7 separate regions of the Homo sapiens genome follow, and regions 2, 3, 4, 5, 6 and 7 are each linked to region 1. Evidence: promoter capture Hi-C in 16 types of primary human blood cells and fetal thymus (Javierre and others, 2016). All regions are on one chromosome and are shown on one strand. The core of a region is centred on a gene start or on the middle of the fragment in contact, and the rest is flanking DNA. Distances in the headings are between cores, read along the strand shown.

Region 1 (2,700 bases), core at 167-2,666:
TGGATCTCAAAGGGGTCTATGTAGAGGGAAAAGAGAGCAAGTTATTAAACACAAATAAGAAAAAAAGGCATGAGAAAAGAACCTAGGATTTTAGATTTTGGTGGGGATAAAGTTATTTGGTGTAAAATGATGATGAGCTAAAAACTAATGATAACATTTAGACATTTTCAGAAACAAGAGCATTGAGAAAAATGTGCATGCCATGAAGACAAAGGTATGTGATAAAGGAGTACAGTGAGTATGAAAGGAGAGGTGAGGCAGAGCGTGGTGCAGTCAGGAGTGCAGCATTCCAGAGTGAGTGGAGGTTCCCAGCAAGAGGAGGGTGCGGGGAGGAGATGATTGAAAAGATGGATTAGGGGAGAAAGCCACACGTTAGATCACTCAGGCACAGGGTAGGAGAAGTAAGGGCCCTTGAGGAGAAGTTTCACATAAGACAAACCAGCAGCTGGTTACAAAGTGGAAGACAGTCTGAGAGTAAGAGAAGAGTGCAGAGGCAGCAAGAATCTGAAATATGAGGTGTGATGGTGTGAAGCTGGAGTGAGAGACTACTCAAGAAAAGCATGTGCGTGCATTTGGGTAAAATAGAAAGGAAGGGAGAAGCATCAGAGAGAGCAACACTTTGCAAAAAAGAGAGAAAAGAGAGTCCTTGAGACTCTTCCCAGTTCGGTGGACTAGACTCACATTTCATCTGGAAATCACCGGCAAAGTCTTGTACTTCTCGAGCGAATCCAAAGATGTAGACTCGGAATATCTCCTCTAACTCAGCAACCTCCTTATCACTAAAGTTACCTTTAGACCAAGGCTTCAGGAATATGGCAGTGCCTGAGTCGCTATCCCAGCCATGAATCTGCAAATCATCCAACCAGCCTGAGCCTTGAGTTTGTGCCCAGGTACTATTGGTAAAGGACGAGGTCTGGATAACATGAAAGGAGGTCGGCCCCTGGAAGGCTGTGAAGAGTGGAAAAGCAAGATGGTGAAGATAAAGAGAGAAGCAGGAGACAATTAGGAAGAATGGGAATGAAAATGATTTAGAAAACAAGAACCTAGAGTCTAAAGAACACAGGAAGTCTGACACATTTGACTGCCTTAAGGCTTCAGGTTCTAGTCCCAACCACCAGAATGGTTGAAGAGGGCGGGAGACAGAAAGACCCAGACCCTTAGTGTCCAATTGCACCTAGGAAAGCCCTGCTTGCTTTTTAAAATCCAAACCCCTGCACCAGTGCTGGGAGCTGCCAGAGTGACTCTTACCATGTTCACTGTTACCACCAGGAAAGAGAACAGCTAACAGTTGAAATGGCAGCAGCAGCATTTCACTGGGAGATGCAACTTCTTACTGGCAGAGCTGGTATTTGATCTCCAATTTCAGCAAAGCTTTTCCTCAGTACCCTGTAGTGACTTCTTCTCTCTTCCAACTGCCAAATCTCTTCCTCATCCAAACTGCTTTTCAGAGAAAAATGTGCCTCCCACAGCCCTGAGCCTCTTACCTCACCTTTTATTTCCCTCAAGCCCTGATTTTTAGAGTTTCTCTTACCCCCTGACTTCCAGCCGCTCTCCCTGTCCTCACCTTCCTTCATACCTCCTTGGAAAAGCCCCCATATGATTCTGCATTTTCATTTCTCCTTCCTTAGCCTTTATTCCCACATCTATAGGATAAGATGGTGATATTAAGCAATTGCTAAGCTTTTAGTCTGCTTTAACCCAGAAGGATGCTTTTAGTTTATCCACCTCACTTAGTTTCTCCCCCTCCCAGCTGCCTTATCTTCTCTGGCACTCTGTTACTGCCTCTTCCCAATGTTTTCAATGTCTTCTCTTTCTTATATTGCCCTCTTTGTCTGGTGTTCCTTACCCCACATTCTAAACTGGCTGTGAGTGTGTGTGTGTGTGTGTCTGTGTCTGTGTGTGTATGTGTATGTGTGTGTACCGATATTCACTTACATAAAGGCAAAGCATTTAAAACATTTCCTGTACTATAGCACTACAAACCAAAATGCCAGAATCAAATATAATAAAGACTGAAGTTTATAATTCAAACAAAATTATACTATAGCAATATTTGAGGGAAAAAATGACAATTGCTGCTAGCATGTGACCTTCTCTTCAGGAGCTCTTGGCCTATGGAGTTTTGAGTAACAAATATTCATGACATAAACAGAACTCTAGGAGCTATGCTATGTGCACCTCCAGCCTAAGTCAAAGATAACTTTTTGGGTAAGTTGCCATAAGCGGCAGAGCTTTTTTCTTCTCTTGTAATATCTCATAACTGCTGTCTACATTTGGGCATTCATATCACCACATGTGGTATTAATAATAGAGCAAAGAGGTTGCTTTTTTTTATACAAAAAGTTCAGAGATACTTGTTTTAAGATGTCACCTCCTATCTTCTTGTATGCCCATGAAAAATTTTAAGAAGAATTTTTGGATTTTCTCCATTTAGGAAAAAAATCACATATTTGCAGAGATCTATGTATCATGCAGAAATGTGGCAGCAATCGATTCCGAGTAAAGAGGGTTATCACTAACTAATTCTATTATGTGGATAAGAAAATGCAAAGTGAGTAGTGTAGTGTTCTCTATTCCTGGGGACACTACTGGTTCACAACATTAATAAGACTGGTTCACAACATTAATAAGACTAGCCTTCATCCAAGATTATTACTGCCTAATTGATAAATACAGAGCAGCTCTCCAAATTTCAATGTA
Region 2 (2,700 bases), core at 110-2,609, 200 kb before region 1:
CTATAGCCTCTGGAGGGAGCCTGGTATTTATATCTTGATTTCAGACTTTTAGCCTTCAGAGCTGTGAGAGAATGAATTTCTGTTGCCTTGAACCACCAAATTTGTGGTAATCTATTATGGCAGCCCCAGGAAGTTAATACGGGAACCTTAGAGAGGTCATCTATTCCCACTCCTTCACCTAATAGATGAGGAAACTGAGGCATAAAGAAGGGAAGTGACTAAAGTCACACAATTTTTGGCACACTAACAGGGTCTTGCTCTGTTGCCCAGGCTGGAGTGCAGTGGCATGGCCTCAACCTTCTAGGTTCAGTTGATCCTCCCACCTCAGCTTCCCTTGTAGGTGGGACTACAGGCGCATGCCACCATACCTACAGCTAGCACCACCACACCCAGCTGTTTTTGTTTTGTTTTGTTTTGTATTTTTTGCAGAGACAGAGTTTCACCATGTTGCCCAGGCTGTTCTCAAACTCCTGGGCTCAAGCTATCTGCCCACTTCAGCCTCCCAAAGTGTTGGTATTACAGGCATTAGCCACTGTGCCCAGCCTGTGTCTTCTTTTTAAAACATCTTTATTGAGATATATAATTCACATACCACACAGTTCACTCATTTGAAGTGTACAATTCGATGTTTTTTTATTATATCCAGGGGATTATTAAAACATCGCTATAATCTTATTTTGGAATATTTTCACCACCTACCCCAAGAAACCCCATACTTGTCAGCAGTTTTGTCTGAGTCCTTTCTGGTTCCCTGTTTCAGGCATATTGGTTTCTTCTCCCCAACCAGACTTGGCTTCGCAGTGCCTTGTCTTTTGTATTCCTCTCTCATTGCCTAGTCAGCTGCTTCCCATGAGGCCATGGTTTGACTGGTTGCCCCAAACTCCCTTTACACGAGGAGTTCATCATTCTTTCTGGCTGGCACTGAAGATTCTTTGATGGGGCTCTGGCCCTGGTAGTTGGACTGCTGACCTGTGGGAAAACCCCACAACACATCATCCGCTGAACCAACCCTCAAAGGCATCAAGGTTGACTTGTTCTTCATTTATGTCTAAAGAGAAAGAGTCTGGAAACTGAGTCACACTGAAGGGCCAGACAGCTTTGGCTCCCTCTAGTATCTTCAGAGCAAGCTCCACTGGCTCACCTACCACTCCACTGAGGAAAAGCTGACCACTGGTGAGGGCTGGCTGGCACCTCTGGATGACCTAGAGGGCTGTATCTGGAAGCCTAAGTAGAAAAAAAGAAATAGAACATGCCATTGGGGGAACACTTTCTCTACATTGCTGGTGTTTTCTTTCTTGGGGCAGAAACCCTATTAAACAAACACTCCTGGCCTCTCTAGGCTCTGGCTGTCACTCTTGGCCCCAGGATGCAGAAAGCACCCCATGCACCTGCTGCTTTCTGTACATTTCCCAGGGCTATGTCCCCAGGAGTGAGAGACCTGTGTTTTCCATCGATAATTATGTTGGGTGGTGAGTCAGTCCACCATGTTTTTTTTCAATCAGTTATAAAGGTGAGTTTTGCTATCTGCCTCATTTCTTTGTCTCCGCTGGTCCAAAACTTGGATGAGAAAAAGAGACACGTTTTATATTAAGGTGGAAAATGGAGACATTACGTACCAACCACTTAAACCTCAAATACCTGAGTCCTCCATGGACTCTGAACCAGGCCCTGAGTTTTCTCACCTTGATGATGGCAACAGAGTTCCAAGAGCGTCCCAGCTTCCAGTGTCTCTCATCCCTTGAGAGCATTTAATTTACATTTCTAATGTGGAAGAGAAGAGATTAAAGTTTACCGAACCTCCACTAAGATGATTTCCTAGGTGCTTTGACATGGTGTTTTATTTATAACAACAACTCTGAGAGATAGTAACAGCAATAATTTACTGCATTCTTTCTTTCTTTTCTCTTTTTTTTTTTTTTTTTTGAGATGGAGTTTCACTCTTGTTGCCCAGGCTGGAGTGCAATGACACGATCTCAGCTCACTGCAACCTCTGCTGTGCTGGTTCAAGTGATTCTCCTGCCTCAGCCTCCTGAGTAGCTGGGATTACAGGTGCCTGCCACCACTCCCGACCAGTTTTTTTAAAAAATTATATTTATTTATTATTATTATTATTTTTTGAGACGGAGTCTCGCTCTGTCACCCAGGCTGGAGTTCAGTGGCACGATCTCGGCTCACTGCAAGCTCCGCCTCCCGGGTTCACGCCATTCTCCTGCCTCAGCCTTCCCAGTAGCTGGGACTACAGGAGGCTGCCACCATGCCCGGCTAATTTTTTTGTATTTTTAGTAGAGATGGGGTTTTGCCGTGTTAGCCAGGATGGTCTCCATCTCCTGATCTCGTGATCCACCCATCTCGGCCTCCCAAAGTGCTGGGATTACAGGCGTGAGCCACCGCACCCGGCCTCCCGACCAGTTTTTGTATTTTTAGTAGAGAAGGGGTTTCATCATGTTGGTCAGGCTGTTCTCGAACTTCTGACCGTAGGCGATCCACCTGCCTCGGCTTCCCAAAGTGTTGGGATTACAGGTGTGAGCCACTGGCATTATTTCTTTTCTTATGCTAGCTACTGGGCTGTTATACCTGCATCAGCTCGCTTTGTCCTTTTGGCTAATTGAGGCTCAATGAGACTGAGTAATTTGCTCAAGTTCATGCAGAAATTAGTGCTAGAATCAAGAATTTAGTTTATGATTAAAAAAATTTTTCCAG
Region 3 (2,700 bases), core at 48-2,547, 150 kb after region 1:
AAATAATTTGCAGTGACAAAATGGCCTTGTTTGCCATCATCATACTATAGCCATCATTAATTAAAAAGGCAGTAGAAGATAAACATAAATTTGCCATTCTGTGCACCACATTTCTTTACTTACAGCTTATAAAGTGGGATCCTATGGAGAATGGTCCTGTACCGGCCTAAGAATCAAAAAAGGTCTTATTTGAAAAGATTATCTCCTTCTTTGTCCAATGTCTACCATCAAAGTTTTTTTTATTTTCACCTGTTTCATGAAGTATTACCTGATTTCCATTCTTCAAAACACCATAGCATTGTAAGCTTTACTTATACTTCTTACTGAGCTCTGACATATTGAGCTGATTATGTACATATCTTATTTTCTCTAATGGACAATCAACAACGTGAAAGGAAGTAATTTATTATACCGATACATTAACTCCTCCTAAATGTCTTTTATATCCCTGACATTCAGGAGATAACTAATACATGTCTCTTAACTTTAATTGAATAAATGACTTCTTGGTCTAGCTAAGAAAAACATCTGAAACTACATGTGAAAGTGTAGCAATATTTATGTCCCCCATAACAGTAATTAAAAATAACAATGACAATGATAATTTATTTTGCTCATTAATCTCTTAAATGGGAGAGGGCTTATAAGATTGGCTTGTCTTAACTCCATACAATGTCAACTGAGCTGCTCAACTAGAATTGAGGGACCCACTTCCATTTGGCTCATTTACACGGCTGGCAAAATGATGCTGATTTGTAGTGGAGCTGAGTCAGGGCTATAGGTTGTGAGAGTCAGTATCTCTCCATGTGGCCCTTTTCATGGGGTTCTATAAACTTTCTCACAACATCATGACTGGTTTCAAAGACTAAACATTCCAAGAAACAGAAAGAGGAAGCTGCTAGTCTTTTAAGGCATAATACCAGCAGGTTGTCTGCTCCTGACACCCAAAAAGACAATGATGTGATGGGCATAGGAATAGCAATGGACATTCCCTTGTGAAAAAGGAGGAAATTAGACACATCACAGTCATTGGTCCATAGAAATTCTGAAATTCATCTGGACACTGTTGCCAGTCCTATTTTCTGGGAATGAATTCCATGACTCTTAGATCTAACCTGTGATGCCATTTCCCCACTTTCTGATCATCCTTTTTTATCTGCAAGACATAGCTACAATTTGCAGACATGTCATTTCTTAGTCTGATACCTCCATGGAAGAAGTTGAGGGTCCAAAGGTCTATTCATTTCTGTTTGCTCTGTAGCCTTTAGCACATGTTGATAGAATGCCTTTTTAAAACTTGGTGAGTTTCTTATGTTTCAGTTTATAAATTAATTCCATTAGATAAAAGTCACATCCATATTCATTTCTTTATTATGGGTCACTTGTGAGGTAGCAGTATTAATAACTGCTGTATGGCAATTCCCTTAAGATTCTTAAAAAGACTTATTGCTTAACTTTAAGGAGTCAGGCCCTTAGGATATTTATAAATCTTGTTGGGTATAGCCTAAAATATTTCTGAGTTCTAACAAAAAGTATTACAGCTACATTCTTAAGAGGTTTACCCTGAGGCATTGGTTTCCTGATAGCACCTTGGATTTGATTTCTTCCTTGAAGCCATTTTGTACCTTGAGAGTCTTTGTTGAGAGAGACTGTGCATGAGAAACATCTTTATTTGCAAACCCAACAAGTTTTGTTTCTTTCTGTTTCCTCTAAATTCTCAGAAACTTAAGAAACTTTAAAAAATTATGTACTTTTAAATTGACAAATAGTCATTGTTCATATTCCTTAGGTGCATAGTAATATTCTGATATAAATAATGTTATAGGGATCAGATCAAGGTAATTAGCATATCATCATCTCAAACATTTATCATTTCTTCATGTTGGGAATGTTCAACACCCTCCTTCTGGCAATTTGAATCTATACATTACTGTTAACTATAGTCATCCTACAGTAGCAAAGAACACTGTAACTTATTCCTTTATCTAGCTGTAATTTTGTATCCTTTAGCAAATCTCCACCTATCCTTCCCTTTTCTCTACTATTCCCTTCCTCTAGTATCCTGCTGTCTACTCTCTTTTCATATTTTATCATTGGTTGGAATTTTCTATAGTCTTCCTAGAAATTTACCCAGGAAGATAATGAGATTACTAAATAGTCTATTTTCCAGGCTGTAGCATGTGGTCCTGCTGCCAAACTTTAGAGCAATGGATAATAAGTATCCATGTTTTACCTAAGTATGATAACAGTTTCCTCTCTGTCCTTCAAATATTTTTCTCTCTGTGCTTCAAAGCTTTACCAAGAGTTGCCTTATGATCCTTTCACCTTTTAGTAAGAGACTCCTTAAGTCCTTATGGATTATTTATACCACCAATTGCAAAATTAATGCCAAATGTTTTAAATGTTGATTATAACAGCACCCTGCCTTTAGATACCAAATTCTGTTCTCATTATTTACTGCTGCATAATCAACTCTCTACAACTTTAGTTGCTTAAATGAGCTGTAATTATTTTGCACACAAGTCTGCAATTTTGGCAGGGCTCAGTGGGGACAGCTGGAATTTGTTCTTTGTCCCAGCAGGTTGGATGATTCAATTGGGGCTGAAGGATTTACTTTCAAGATTGCTCACTTATGTGCCTGTTTTATTCGTGTTAGCTATTGGTTGTTTGCTCAGCTGGGGCTATTGGCCAGGAGCCTTG
Region 4 (2,700 bases), core at 189-2,688, 170 kb before region 1:
TGTCTTATGTCTCCCTAAAATGTATAAAACCAATCTGTGCCCTGACCATTTGGGGCACATGTCATCAGGACTTCCTGAGGCTGTGTTATGGGCGTGTGTCCTCAACCTTGGCAAAATAAGCTTTCTAAATTAACTGAGACTTGTCTAAGATTTTCTGGGTTCGCAGGCTTGTGATTTACAATGGACCATAAGGTGTAGGAATAAATAATTTGAGACAGTGTTGATGGCAGGCACAAACTGAGTGGCTTAAAACAATGAAATTTCTCAAATTTACAGTTCTAGAGGTAAGAAGTCTGAAATGAGTCTCACTGTGCTAAAATCAAGGCATCAGTAGGACATGTTGTCACAGGGTGAACCTCAAAACTGGGGCTCAGCCTGGGAGGCCACATGGCTTCTTGGCTTCACACAGAAAAGAATTCAAGATTGAGCCAACAGAGTAAAGTGAAAGCAAATTTAGTAAAAAGTAATGGAATAAAAAGTGTGGCTACCCCATAGGCAGAGTAGCCCTGAGAGCTGCTGGTTGGCTATTTCCACGGTTATTTTTGATCATAGCTAAACAAGAGGTGGACTCTTTATGAATTTTCTGGGAAAGGAAAGGGGCACGGAATTCCTGGAATGAGGGTTCCCTCCGTTTTTCGACCATATCTTTCCACCATAACTTTGGGATGTTGCCTGGCATTTGTAAACTGTCTTGGCAGCTGGTGGGAGTGTCTTTTAGCATGCGGATACATTATAATTAACATATAATGAGGAGTGAGGATGACTAGAGGCCGCTTTCGTCACCATCTTGGTTCTGGCTGATTTTGGCTGGCTTCTTTACTGTATGTTGTTTTATCAGTGGGGTCATTGTGACCTGTGTCTTAAAAACCAAGTCCTGCTGAACTCCTATTTCAATGTGATTGTTACCAAGTTAGTGAAGAGGAGATTTGGGTCAGGGAGGTATGGCAGGGAACCCGATCCCACAGGCCTTGTGGGCCATTGTAAGGGCTCTGAGTGAGATCTGAGCCACTGGAAGGGCCTCAGCATATGAATAATGTGATGTGACACATTTAGTTTCTTTTTTTTAATTATTTTTTGAGACAAGGTCTCACTCTGTCACCCAGGCTGGAGGGTAGTGGCATGATCATAGCTCACTGCAGCCTCAATCTACCCAGATTAAACAGTCCTCTTGCCTCAGCCTCCTGAGTAGCTGGGACCAAAGACACGCATCACCATGCCCAGCTAATTTTTAAATTTTTTGTAGAGATAGTGTTTTGCTTTGTTACCCAGGCTGGTCTTGAACTGCTGGGCTCAAGTGATCCTCCCGCTCAGCCTCCCAAAATGCTAAGATTACAGGCATGAACCCTATGTGTGACCTGACATATTTTAAAAGGCTCTCTCTGTGTTACGATTAAGAACTGTAGGATGCAAAGGTAGGGCAGAGAGGGAGACCAGTGAGGAAGCTCTTGTAATAGCCTGAGTGAAAACAAGAAAAAGGAAACCTGGTGATAGGGGCCCAGGTAGTTGTAGTAGAGGTGGTGAGCGGTGGTAGCATGTTGTTGGATATATTTTAAAGGTGGATTTGATAGATTTCCTCATGGGATGGATGTGAGCTGGAGAAAAGAAAGGAGGACATAACGATTCTGTTTTTTGCTTCAACAACTGTAGGAAAGGAGGTGCCAGTGATTAAGAAGAGAAAACTGGTATAGGGTAGGCCTGGCTCCTCTCCAGCGCATAATAATGTAGTAAATATGTGCACCACTGTGATCAATCCAAGTACCACAACTCTGTGAGGGGGCATTAATGGACTCCATTTTCCAATGAGGAAATTCAGATTCAGGAAGGTAGGGGTCTTGTGCAAGTTAACACAGCCAGTATAAATTAAATTTGGTGCTGAAACAAGGACTTGCTGGCTGGTCCTGTAGTTCTCACAAGCTCTCAGGCTTGCCTCAGCTTTTCACAGTTGATAGCACCACAATAAAGACACAAACAGGCCTCTAATGTCCTCTTATTGTTCATGACCTGACCTAACTACTTTATTTTACTTATCTATTTATTTATTTGGAGATGGAGTTTCACTCTTGTTGCCCAGGCTGGAGTGCAATGGTGCGATCTCAGCTCATTGCAACCTCTGTCTCCTGGATTCAAGCAATTCTCCTGCCTCAGCCTCCCGAGTAGCTGGGATTACAGGCATGTACCACCACGCCCGGCTAATTTTGTATTTTTAGTAGAGACGGGGTTTTGGCATGTTGGTCAGGCTGGTCTAGAACTCCTGACCGCAGGTGACCCACCTGCCTTGGCCTCCCAAAGTGCTGGGATTACAGGTGTGAGCCACCTCACCCGGCAGACCCAACTACTTTAGCTCCTCCCACATATCTTACCAATTTGCTGCAAATTATCTTTTCTCACCTTGTGATTCATAGTCCCTTCTGGCCCCCTCAGACCTGATTCTAGGCACTACTTGCCAGATAATAATCTTTTACCTTGTCATGGTTTCTTACATATGCTTCTTTGGAATCTACTGGGGTTTCTTGATTGGTAACTGGATATTTTAAAACACAGACTTAATAGGGAGCATGTGTCTCTGCTTTTACAGTTTGCATGTATAATTCAAATCTGGGTTTTTATATTCATATACAGCCTTGGGAAAAGTTTTTTAAAAAGATTAGTTTGTATACATATTTTATTCATATAGCAATTTTGCTGGGTCTGAGCTTTGAA
Region 5 (2,700 bases), core at 32-2,531, 220 kb before region 1:
CATGCATTCGGTACTGGACACCGTGCTAAGTCTCTGGGGTATGGACAGAAGTAAATTATGGTTTCTGTCCTTTAGGAATGTGTAGTCCAATAGCAGAGACGTACCTGTATGCAAATAACTATAAACGTGATGTCATCGCTAAATACTAGGAGTCTGAACAAAGTGCTATCTTAGCAGGAAGAGGAAGCGATTACTTCTGATGGTCGAATTCAAAGTGAGGAGACTGTAACTTCCGAGAAGGATGAGAAGGGCAGCCGGCTTTTTCTCATGAAGAAAGGCATCCCGGGCAAAGGCACCGAGCTCTTGGTGTGGTTCTCCTGGGATAAGCCCACAGTCACAAACTTGTGCAGGAATGGGGGTACCGGGAAGCAGCCCGGTGTTCCAAGCCTTTTGAGATTCTCCGGACCTGCGCGCCGCCCGCTCGGCAGGGGGCTCGGCAGGCGCGGGCGGCGGGTGGGGGCGGGAGGCTCTGCCCGCTCGGTGGCTGCCGCGGCCTCCTCCGCGCTGCTCTCCACGCCTGGCTTATTATGCACGAGGCAGGCAATTTGCCTTCCTCCCCGGGGACCCATCTCGGAGACAAGAAGGTAGTTTGTTCTCTGTAATGGCTTCTGCTGGAGTGCGGCGGGGCCCAGGCGCGAGCGGGGGCACGGGCGGGGAGTTGGCAGCGAAGGATGCGCCCGGCGCCCCCCGGCGGCCGCCCGGAGCCCGAGGTCGGCGCGGGAGGAGCGCTGACTCCGCGGGCCGAGCCCTCCCCTGCCCTCCTCTGCTCCTCCGTAACTCCTGAGCTGTGGCCTGCCTTTCTGCTGCCTCCACGTCCCTACTCTTCCTTTCTGCCACCCCGTTTGCTTCTTAAAGGTTGTCCTTTGTTTCTGCCATTTCCCCTGTCTTTCAGCTTCATATTCGTTGGGTGCCCCCATCCATTTCTCCACATCACTCTCTTCTTAGTGCTGGGGACCTGGGGGTGAGGAAGGAGGCAGGAGGGATACAGGGATGACTAAAATAGGCATCTCTTCCTTCACGGAACTCAGCCTGGCGGAAACTTAGCTGGCTCCCTGCCTGTCCTAGGCCATCTCTCCTTTTCCTTCTTGTCTCTTCATCGTCTGTTTCTCAGTCGACCCTGGCCTCTGTCCCTATGCCCACAGAAAGACACCCCCATCACCCCTCCCATCGTTTCCGGGTGATGAAGATTGTCTGAGACAGATTCCTAGAATGAACAACCTTGTCTCCTGAGGTCTCGCCCGTTGCCTCCTCATTCACCAGAAATGTTTCCTTCCCTGAAGCAGAGAGAGAGAGAGAGAGACAGAGAGAGACAGAGATCCAAAGACAGCCAAGCCGGGCCAACATCTTCTGGGGAGTTCTTTGGAGTGTGGGGTGACTGATGCATCCAGTTGGCCGGTTGACTATCTTCCCAACTGTAAGATTCCCAGAATGGCTCAGAAAGAAGCTGAGGAGTGCACACAAACATTTAAAAAATTGGCCAGTCGTGGTAGCTCACGCTTGTAATTCCAGCACTTTGGGAGGCCGAGGCAGGCAGATCATGAGGTCAGGAGTTCGAGACCAGCTTGGCCAACACAGTGAAACCCCATCTCTACTAAAAATACAAAAATTAGCCAGGCATGGTGGCAGGCACCTGTAGTTCCAGCTACTTGGGAGGATGAGGCAGGAGAATCGCTTGAACCTGGGAAGCAGAGGTTGTAGTGAGCCGAAATCATGCCATTGCACTCCAGCATGGGCAACAGAGCAAGACTCCGTCTCAAAAAAAAAAAAAAAAAAGTAAAAAATTTAAAAAATTTAAAAAGGGGGCCAAGGGCCGGGCACAGTGGCTCACTCCTGTCATCCCAACACATTTGGGAGGCCGAGGCTGGCAGATAATCTGAGGTGAGGAGTTCGAGACCAGCCTAGCCAACATGGAGAAACCCCATCTCTACTAAAAGTACAAACATTAGCCGGGCGTGGTGGCAGGCACCTGTAATCCCAGCTACTCTGGAGGCTGAAGTAGGAGAATCACTTGAACTCGAGAGGTGGAGGTTGCAGTGAGTTGAGACTGCACTCTAGCCTGAGTGACAGAGCGAGACTCTATCTCAAAAAATGAACAAATAAATGAAAATTAAAAAGAACTGAGGATACCTGGCCTGTCTCCCAGGGGTCCTGTGTAGAATTATTCCCAGCTCTCACCCCCACCCATACCCTCACCATAACACCAGGCCATGGATGATGTGTCCGTGCAGATGTCTGTATAGAGGTGTATGAGCACTGAACGGAGTGAGTGGTGGCATGCCATTTACATACAGATGACTGAGCTGTGGGCCCTTGGTTACTTACCTCATCTCTCGAGTCTCAGTTCTCTTTTCTGTAAAATAAGGAGGTTGTATTCCATGGACTCAGAAGTCTACAACTGTGTTAATCTATGACTATGTTAGGGGTAGAGACCAAGGAGAATATCCCAACAAGAGAGTGTCCTCTGTGTCTTTGTGGACTTAGGAAGGTTCTCTATAGAAGAGAGTGGCTGAGTAGGCCGGGGGTAGGAAAGGAAAAGGAGCAGGTAAGGCTTGGGGTAGGTGTGTATCTAACAGATCTGGGCAAGAGGGGTTGGGCTGGAATGTCAGGGGAGCCACAAGAAGAATATGGAGACTGGGCTGGGCGTTGATGTCCAGAGCTTCAGGACACCCCAGAGGTGACATGCTCAATGCGGAAGAAGTC
Region 6 (2,700 bases), core at 73-2,572, 150 kb before region 1:
CCTCTTTAGCTCCTCCACTGGAATTTGGACTGGAGTTATTTAGCTTGGCAATTTCCTCTTCTCTCTTAAGATCTTTCTCCTTTTCCTCAATAGTCTCAATGTCGTGCTTTTTTATTTGGTCCTTTTCCTTATGTTTTTTAGACTTCTTTTTGGACTTTTTGTGAGACACTGAATGGTTTTCTTCCATAGGCTTTGGACACTTTAATAGAACTGAACCAGGGGGTAAGGTTTCCAGAGAAGTCCTAGAGGTATACTTGTCTTGTTGGTTCTCATAGATACTATTGTTTTGACTAAAACTGTCAACAGGTAGGTCTTGAGCCCCCGGCCTTCTGGAGTGCTAGGGGAATTGGAGTTAGAATTTACAATCTGAGGAGGATGTGAAACCGGCAGATGGGTTGAAGGCAAGCGGTGGAGGGGTGGGGATGGCAGCAGCTGCAGGGGGCAGAGGGAGGCCTGCAGCAGATTTTTCACTGGTGGGATTCAAATGACCATTTAGTGTTGGTGGTACTCTGCTCGTCAGGTGAGATATTCGGGCTTTTTTATCCATTAAATGATCAATAAACTCTGAATCCAAAAGCCGTGTCTGAGGAGAAGATACAGCGTTTCTACTAGAACATACTGGAGATTCTGAACGGCTGGTGCCTGCAGCATTCTGAGATGGATTTAGTTTTCTAGAGAGCATTGACTCCAATGACCAAGTGTCTATTTCACTGTATCCAGGCCAGTCTCTCTGAAGCTCTTTAAAAACATAATCCTTTGAAGTATACGAGAGGTCCTTAGGATTCAGATTGGCTACCTGTTGCAGAATTGCTCCCAGGGAGTTCCTGTCTTTTTGATTGACACCATCTTTCTGGAGTCTAGCAAGTAGCTCCGGTTTCTTGTAGGCCTTCAGGGCCAGTAAGTGAACCACCCTGTCCCTGTATGGCTTCTGAGAGACGCTGCTGCTGCTGTGTGTCTATCGAATTGGATTTGCAGGGTTCATGGGGGTTGACCTTTTCCTCTCAGGAACTGTATCTGAAACAGCTTGAGGTGCTTTCCGAATTTGCACTCTTTTCCCTACATATGGTCCACCGGGTTTGATAACTTCTGTGCTTCGGTTGCGGGATTCCTCCTCTGCCTGGGTCGTTCTTTCTCGTGTCATCTGATCCGAGTCGTTTGTTGCACACACTGTAATTTTATCTTGTATAAATCCCAGGCAATTGAGCTGGGAGGCTCCAGAGCTGGAGAATGTTTGCTGGACGCAGTCAAAGCTGCCCTGAGGGTTGTCTTTGCCCACATTTGACAAATAAAAGTTAAAGTTATGAACTTCATTGAGGGGATCATTTTTGGGAATTTTGACAAGCTCCTGGAGTCTTTGGAACTGAATTGAAGGTCGAAAAGAAATTAAATTCTTGTGGCTCTGGTAAGTCTGGAGCGCCTGGATCGCCGACTCGGTGAGCTTCACATGCAGTACGGTGATGTTGTCCTGCCCCAGCCGTCCGCACGAGAGCCCATAGCGCTGCCCCGCGACCCCCCCACCCCCGACATCTTAAACTCCCAGAGGTGCCGCCGCCGCCAGTCCAGCTCCAGCCTCCACTGCGGCCGCAGCTGCTTGGGCTTCTGCAGCCGCCGCCACTGCTAGGGCCATCCCGCTGCTGGCGTACTGTCATATACTGCGCGGAGCCAGACCTCGGACTGCCATCGCCGCCACCTGCCCCACCCTCTGGCCCCGCGCCCCGCCCCAGGCTAGTCTCATTGGTCTAGTTCCCTCAGAACCGTCCTCATCGGCCGCCCTCCACTTTCACGGGGGCGGGGCCCAAAGTCGCTGGAGTTTTGCTCCTGGGACTGGACGTCCGAGAGGTAAGAGAGCTATCACAAGGTTTTCTAATCCTTATGTTTCTTTTAGTGGATCTCCAGGTTACTGTGGTTTGTATTATCAGGCTACTTACAAAAATGAATACCTCTTTAAATCAGGCCATTTTACAGCAAACTACGGTCCTTGATCACCATTATGCTCTGAATAAAGACTATGAGCAATTGCACTTGAATGCTGTTAAACTTTATTGACTGAACTTTGAATTGTTTGATTTTGATCAGGTTGGCTTGTGGAAAGTGCTATTAAGAAGAGTTCTTTAGTTCGTTGGTATTATCCTCCTGATAGCTATTATAAAAGTTTCCCTGATGTGTCCTCTCAAGAATCTTAAATTCTCATATGCAGCTATCCTTTGTACATTAAATGGTCTCCTTATGGTTAGGATAACAAAAACATGAAGAAAGCATATAAGATTCCAACTAATTTGACGTTGTGAATTGTGAATTCTGAACTGAAACCAAGTAAGTCCCTTATGATCAGGCTCCAAGGTTTTGGTCAGCCTCTCAAAATTGAGAGGCTGAAACCCTTTGACCAAAATTAACACATTTGCCCCTTCCCTCCAGCTCCTGGAAACCACTACCCTAACTCTGTTTCCATAAAATAGTAAACTATTTTAGAGTCCACATATAAGTGAGATCATGTAGTACCCACCGTGGGCTTATTTTAAGGCTCTGAGTAAATCACCATCTCTCTGTGCTAGGGTATTCTGAGTCAGTCTTGTTATAAAATATTTTGTTTAGGTAACATATTGCAAAACGTTTCATAATTCAATGGTTCCTTTCCCAGAAAAAAAGCAGTGAAAGTTCCAATAGCCAAAAAGTGTCTAACTCAACTGACCTTTGGGAAAA
Region 7 (2,700 bases), core at 70-2,569, 170 kb after region 1:
TGGATTCTGCCCTCTTAGTCCTCATGGGAAGCCATCCATAAGGAAGAGCTATACTTTAGAACTTGCTGGAAAACCACTCTCTGAAGTACTCTGTGGGTGGGGGGCATCTATGGGAGGATGCTTCTGTTTGCAACCTTCTGGCAAAATACCTTTGATGATGGTACTGCCTGGGAAGTAGCACTACTGGGCGTCCTACTTGTTACTAGACTTCACACACACAGCATGTCCAGGCAGATGAAAGCAGCCAGAAATGGGAAGAGAACTCCGTTTTAACTTCAGTGTCCCTTCACGCCTTCTACAGAAGAGCTTAACATCATGTCTGCTGGTAAAGGAGAAACATTCCAGTAACACAATCAGGACAAGTAAAGGTAGATTTGGAGCTAAAAGGCAATTACATTCTTAATTTTCTTTCTTTTTAAAATTTTGACAGAATTTAGATTTATTCATCCCTATGAGCCCTAGAATTATGTTAATGTCAGGAGATGTTTATAAAATATACTCCACTAAAATTTTTCTGAAAATTCTAACAAGGACATTTGAAACAAGGGTTACATAGGTCAATTACAATTTCACTCAGAAAAAACAATAGCACTCTTGATTTATTCAGTAGTTGTTTTTTAATATAGCATGAGTCACAAATAAGCTAGTTTTTCAACTAGGTCAACACTGACTTTTTTTGTGTGTGATAAGAACATTTAACATGAATCCACCCCCTGATCAAAAGGTATTGGTAACTGTAATCATATATTATGCCATTCTTGCATTGCTATAAAGAAATACCTGAGATTGGGTAATTTATAAAGAAAAGTGGTTTTGTTGGCTCATGATTTGCAGAATTTACAGGAAGCATGGTGCTGGCATCCACTTGGCTTCTGGTGAAGGCTCAGGGAACTTTCAATCATGGTGGAAGGTGAAGCAGGAGCGGGCACATCACATGACCAGAACAGGAGAGAGAGAGTTGGGGGAAGGTGCTGCAAATTTTGAAATGGCAAGATCTTGTGAGAACTTACTCACTATCATAAAAATAGACCAAGTCATGCGAAGTTCACCCCCATGACCGAAACACCTCCCACCTTCAGCACTGGTGATTACAATTCAACGTAAGATTTGTGTGGGGACAAATATCCAAACTATATCAATATTTCTCCGGCTCCTCCCAAATCTATGTCCTTCTCACATTGCAAAATATATTTATGCCTTCCTAAGAGTCCTCCAAAGTTTTAACTTGTTCCAGTGTTAACTCACAAGTCCGAAGTCCAGAGTCTCATCTTTGACAAGGAAAGTCCCTTTCATTCATGAACCTATAAAATCAAAACCAAGTTATTTACTTCCAAGATACAATAGGGATACAGGTATTGGGTAAACGTTGCTATCCTAAAAGAAAGAAATTGGCCAAAAAAATAGGGGCTATAGGCCCCAAGCAAGTCCTAAAGCCAGGAGGGCAGTCATTAAATCTTAAAGCTCCAAAATAATATCCTTTGACTCCATATTCTACATCCAGGTCACACTGCTGCAAGCTCCTCAGAGAGGTGTCAGTCATGGCTCTCAAGGCTTAGGGCAGCTGTATCCCTATGGCTTTGCAGGGTTGAATACCCATGGCTGTTTCCACGGGTTGGTGTTGAGTGTTCTTGGCTTTTCCAGGTGCAGAGGGCAAGCTGACAGTGGATCTTCCTTTCTGGGGTCTGGAGGATGGCGGTCCCCTTCTCACAGCTCCACTAGGCAGTGCCCCAGTGGGAACTCTGGGGCGGGGGGCAAACCCACATTTCCCCTCTGCATTGCCATAGTAGAGGTTCCCTGTGGGGTTCCCCACCCCTGCAGCAGGCCTCTGTCTGGGCACTCAGGCTTTTCCATATGTCCTCTGAAATCTAGGCAGATGGTGCAAATTCTCATTCACTCTGAACTCTGTGTGCCTACAGGCTTAAAATCATGTGCAAATTGCCAAGGCTTACAGTGGCTTGAACTCTCCAAAGTAGCATGTTGAGCAGTACCTGGGCCCCTTTGAGCCCCAGTTGAAGCTGGAGCAGCAGGATGCAGGGAGCAGTGTCATGAAGCTGTGTGTGTGGCAGTAGGGATTCTGGGCCTTTAATGGAAGGGGCTGCCACAGAGGTCTCTGAGATGCCTTCAAGGCTTTTCCCCCATTGTCTTGACTATCAGCACTTGGCTCCTTCATAGGTATGCAAATTTCTTTTTTTTTCTTTTTTTTTTTTTTTTTTTGAGATGGAGTCTTGCTCTGTCACCCAGGCTGGAGTGCAGTGGCATGATCTCGGCTCACTGCAAGCTATGCCTCCCAGGTTCACGCCATTCTCCCGCCTCAGCCAGAGTAGCTGGGACTACAGGCGCCCACCACCGCACCCAGCTAATTTTTTTTTTGTATTTTTAGTAGAGATGGGGTTTCACCATGTTAGCCAGGACAGTCTCGATCTACTGACCTTGTGATCCGTCCACCTCAGCCTCCCAAAGTGCTGGGATTACAGGCGTGAGCCACCACGCCTGACCCACTTAAGTATGCAAATTTCTTTAGTAAAGTGGTTGTTCCACAACCTGCTTGAATTCTTCTCCCCTCAAGAGCTTTTTCTTCCTTTGCCACATTGCCAGGCTGCAGATTTCTCAAACTTTTATTCTCTACTTTCCTTTTAAATATAAGTTTCAGCTTTAAGGTATTCCTTTGTGCCCACATCTGAGTTAGGTTGTTAGAAGCAG

The links. Contacts are between HindIII fragments. The CHiCAGO score rates a contact against its expected background, and 5 or more counts as called.
Region 2: a contact is called between a fragment that was not itself captured here and the fragment with the promoter of CD1B in region 1, in 1 of 17 cell types (fetal thymus). The highest score is 6.5, in fetal thymus.
Region 3: a fragment that was not itself captured here is called in contact with the fragment with the promoter of CD1B in region 1 in 3 of 17 cell types (fetal thymus, M2 macrophages and M0 macrophages); the score reaches 29.0 in fetal thymus.
Region 4: a contact is called between a fragment that was not itself captured here and the fragment with the promoter of CD1B in region 1, in 1 of 17 cell types (fetal thymus). The highest score is 5.4, in fetal thymus.
Region 5: a fragment that was not itself captured here is called in contact with the fragment with the promoter of CD1B in region 1 in 1 of 17 cell types (fetal thymus); the score reaches 5.1 in fetal thymus.
Region 6: a contact is called between a fragment that was not itself captured here and the fragment with the promoter of CD1B in region 1, in 1 of 17 cell types (fetal thymus). The highest score is 12.9, in fetal thymus.
Region 7: a fragment that was not itself captured here is called in contact with the fragment with the promoter of CD1B in region 1 in 2 of 17 cell types (fetal thymus and M2 macrophages); the score reaches 18.7 in fetal thymus.

Annotation. Positions count from the first base shown.
Region 1 is chr1:158,330,115-158,332,814 of GRCh38, forward strand. It overlaps CD1B (CD1b molecule), which reads right to left and starts at 1,417. Exons shown (of 6, transcript NM_001764.3): 1 at 1,249-1,417; 2 at 682-948; 3 at 1-16. The coding sequence starts at 1,309. The HindIII fragment of the contact is 309 bases long and covers 1,370-1,678 here.
Region 2 is chr1:158,131,433-158,134,132 of GRCh38, forward strand. LINC01704 (long intergenic non-protein coding RNA 1704) reads right to left here. Exons shown (of 3, transcript NR_033946.1): 2 at 1,683-1,761; 3 at 612-1,224. Among named protein-coding and RNA genes, the nearest start is that of SMIM42, 4.5 kb to the left of the region's middle. The HindIII fragment of the contact is 9,432 bases long and covers 1-2,700 here.
Region 3 is chr1:158,483,010-158,485,709 of GRCh38, forward strand. The region is part of intron 2 of LOC107985213 (a long non-coding RNA gene); the gene reads right to left. Among named protein-coding and RNA genes, the nearest start is that of OR10R2, 12 kb to the left of the region's middle. The HindIII fragment of the contact is 1,988 bases long and covers 304-2,291 here.
Region 4 is chr1:158,157,202-158,159,901 of GRCh38, forward strand. The region is part of intron 1 of LOC105371460 (a long non-coding RNA gene); the gene reads left to right. Among named protein-coding and RNA genes, the nearest start is that of LINC01704, 18 kb to the left of the region's middle. The HindIII fragment of the contact is 2,640 bases long and covers 119-2,700 here.
Region 5 is chr1:158,113,007-158,115,706 of GRCh38, forward strand. No RefSeq gene overlaps it. Among named protein-coding and RNA genes, the nearest start is that of SMIM42, 14 kb to the right of the region's middle. RefSeq lists an enhancer at 2,200-2,249. The HindIII fragment of the contact is 8,494 bases long and covers 1-2,700 here.
Region 6 is chr1:158,176,230-158,178,929 of GRCh38, forward strand. It overlaps the pseudogene ELL2P1 and a transcript of CD1D not described here. Among named protein-coding and RNA genes, the nearest start is that of CD1D, 3.3 kb to the right of the region's middle. The HindIII fragment of the contact is 3,494 bases long and covers 1-2,700 here.
Region 7 is chr1:158,499,707-158,502,406 of GRCh38, forward strand. No RefSeq gene overlaps it. Among named protein-coding and RNA genes, the nearest start is that of OR10R2, 29 kb to the left of the region's middle. The HindIII fragment of the contact is 6,418 bases long and covers 1-2,700 here.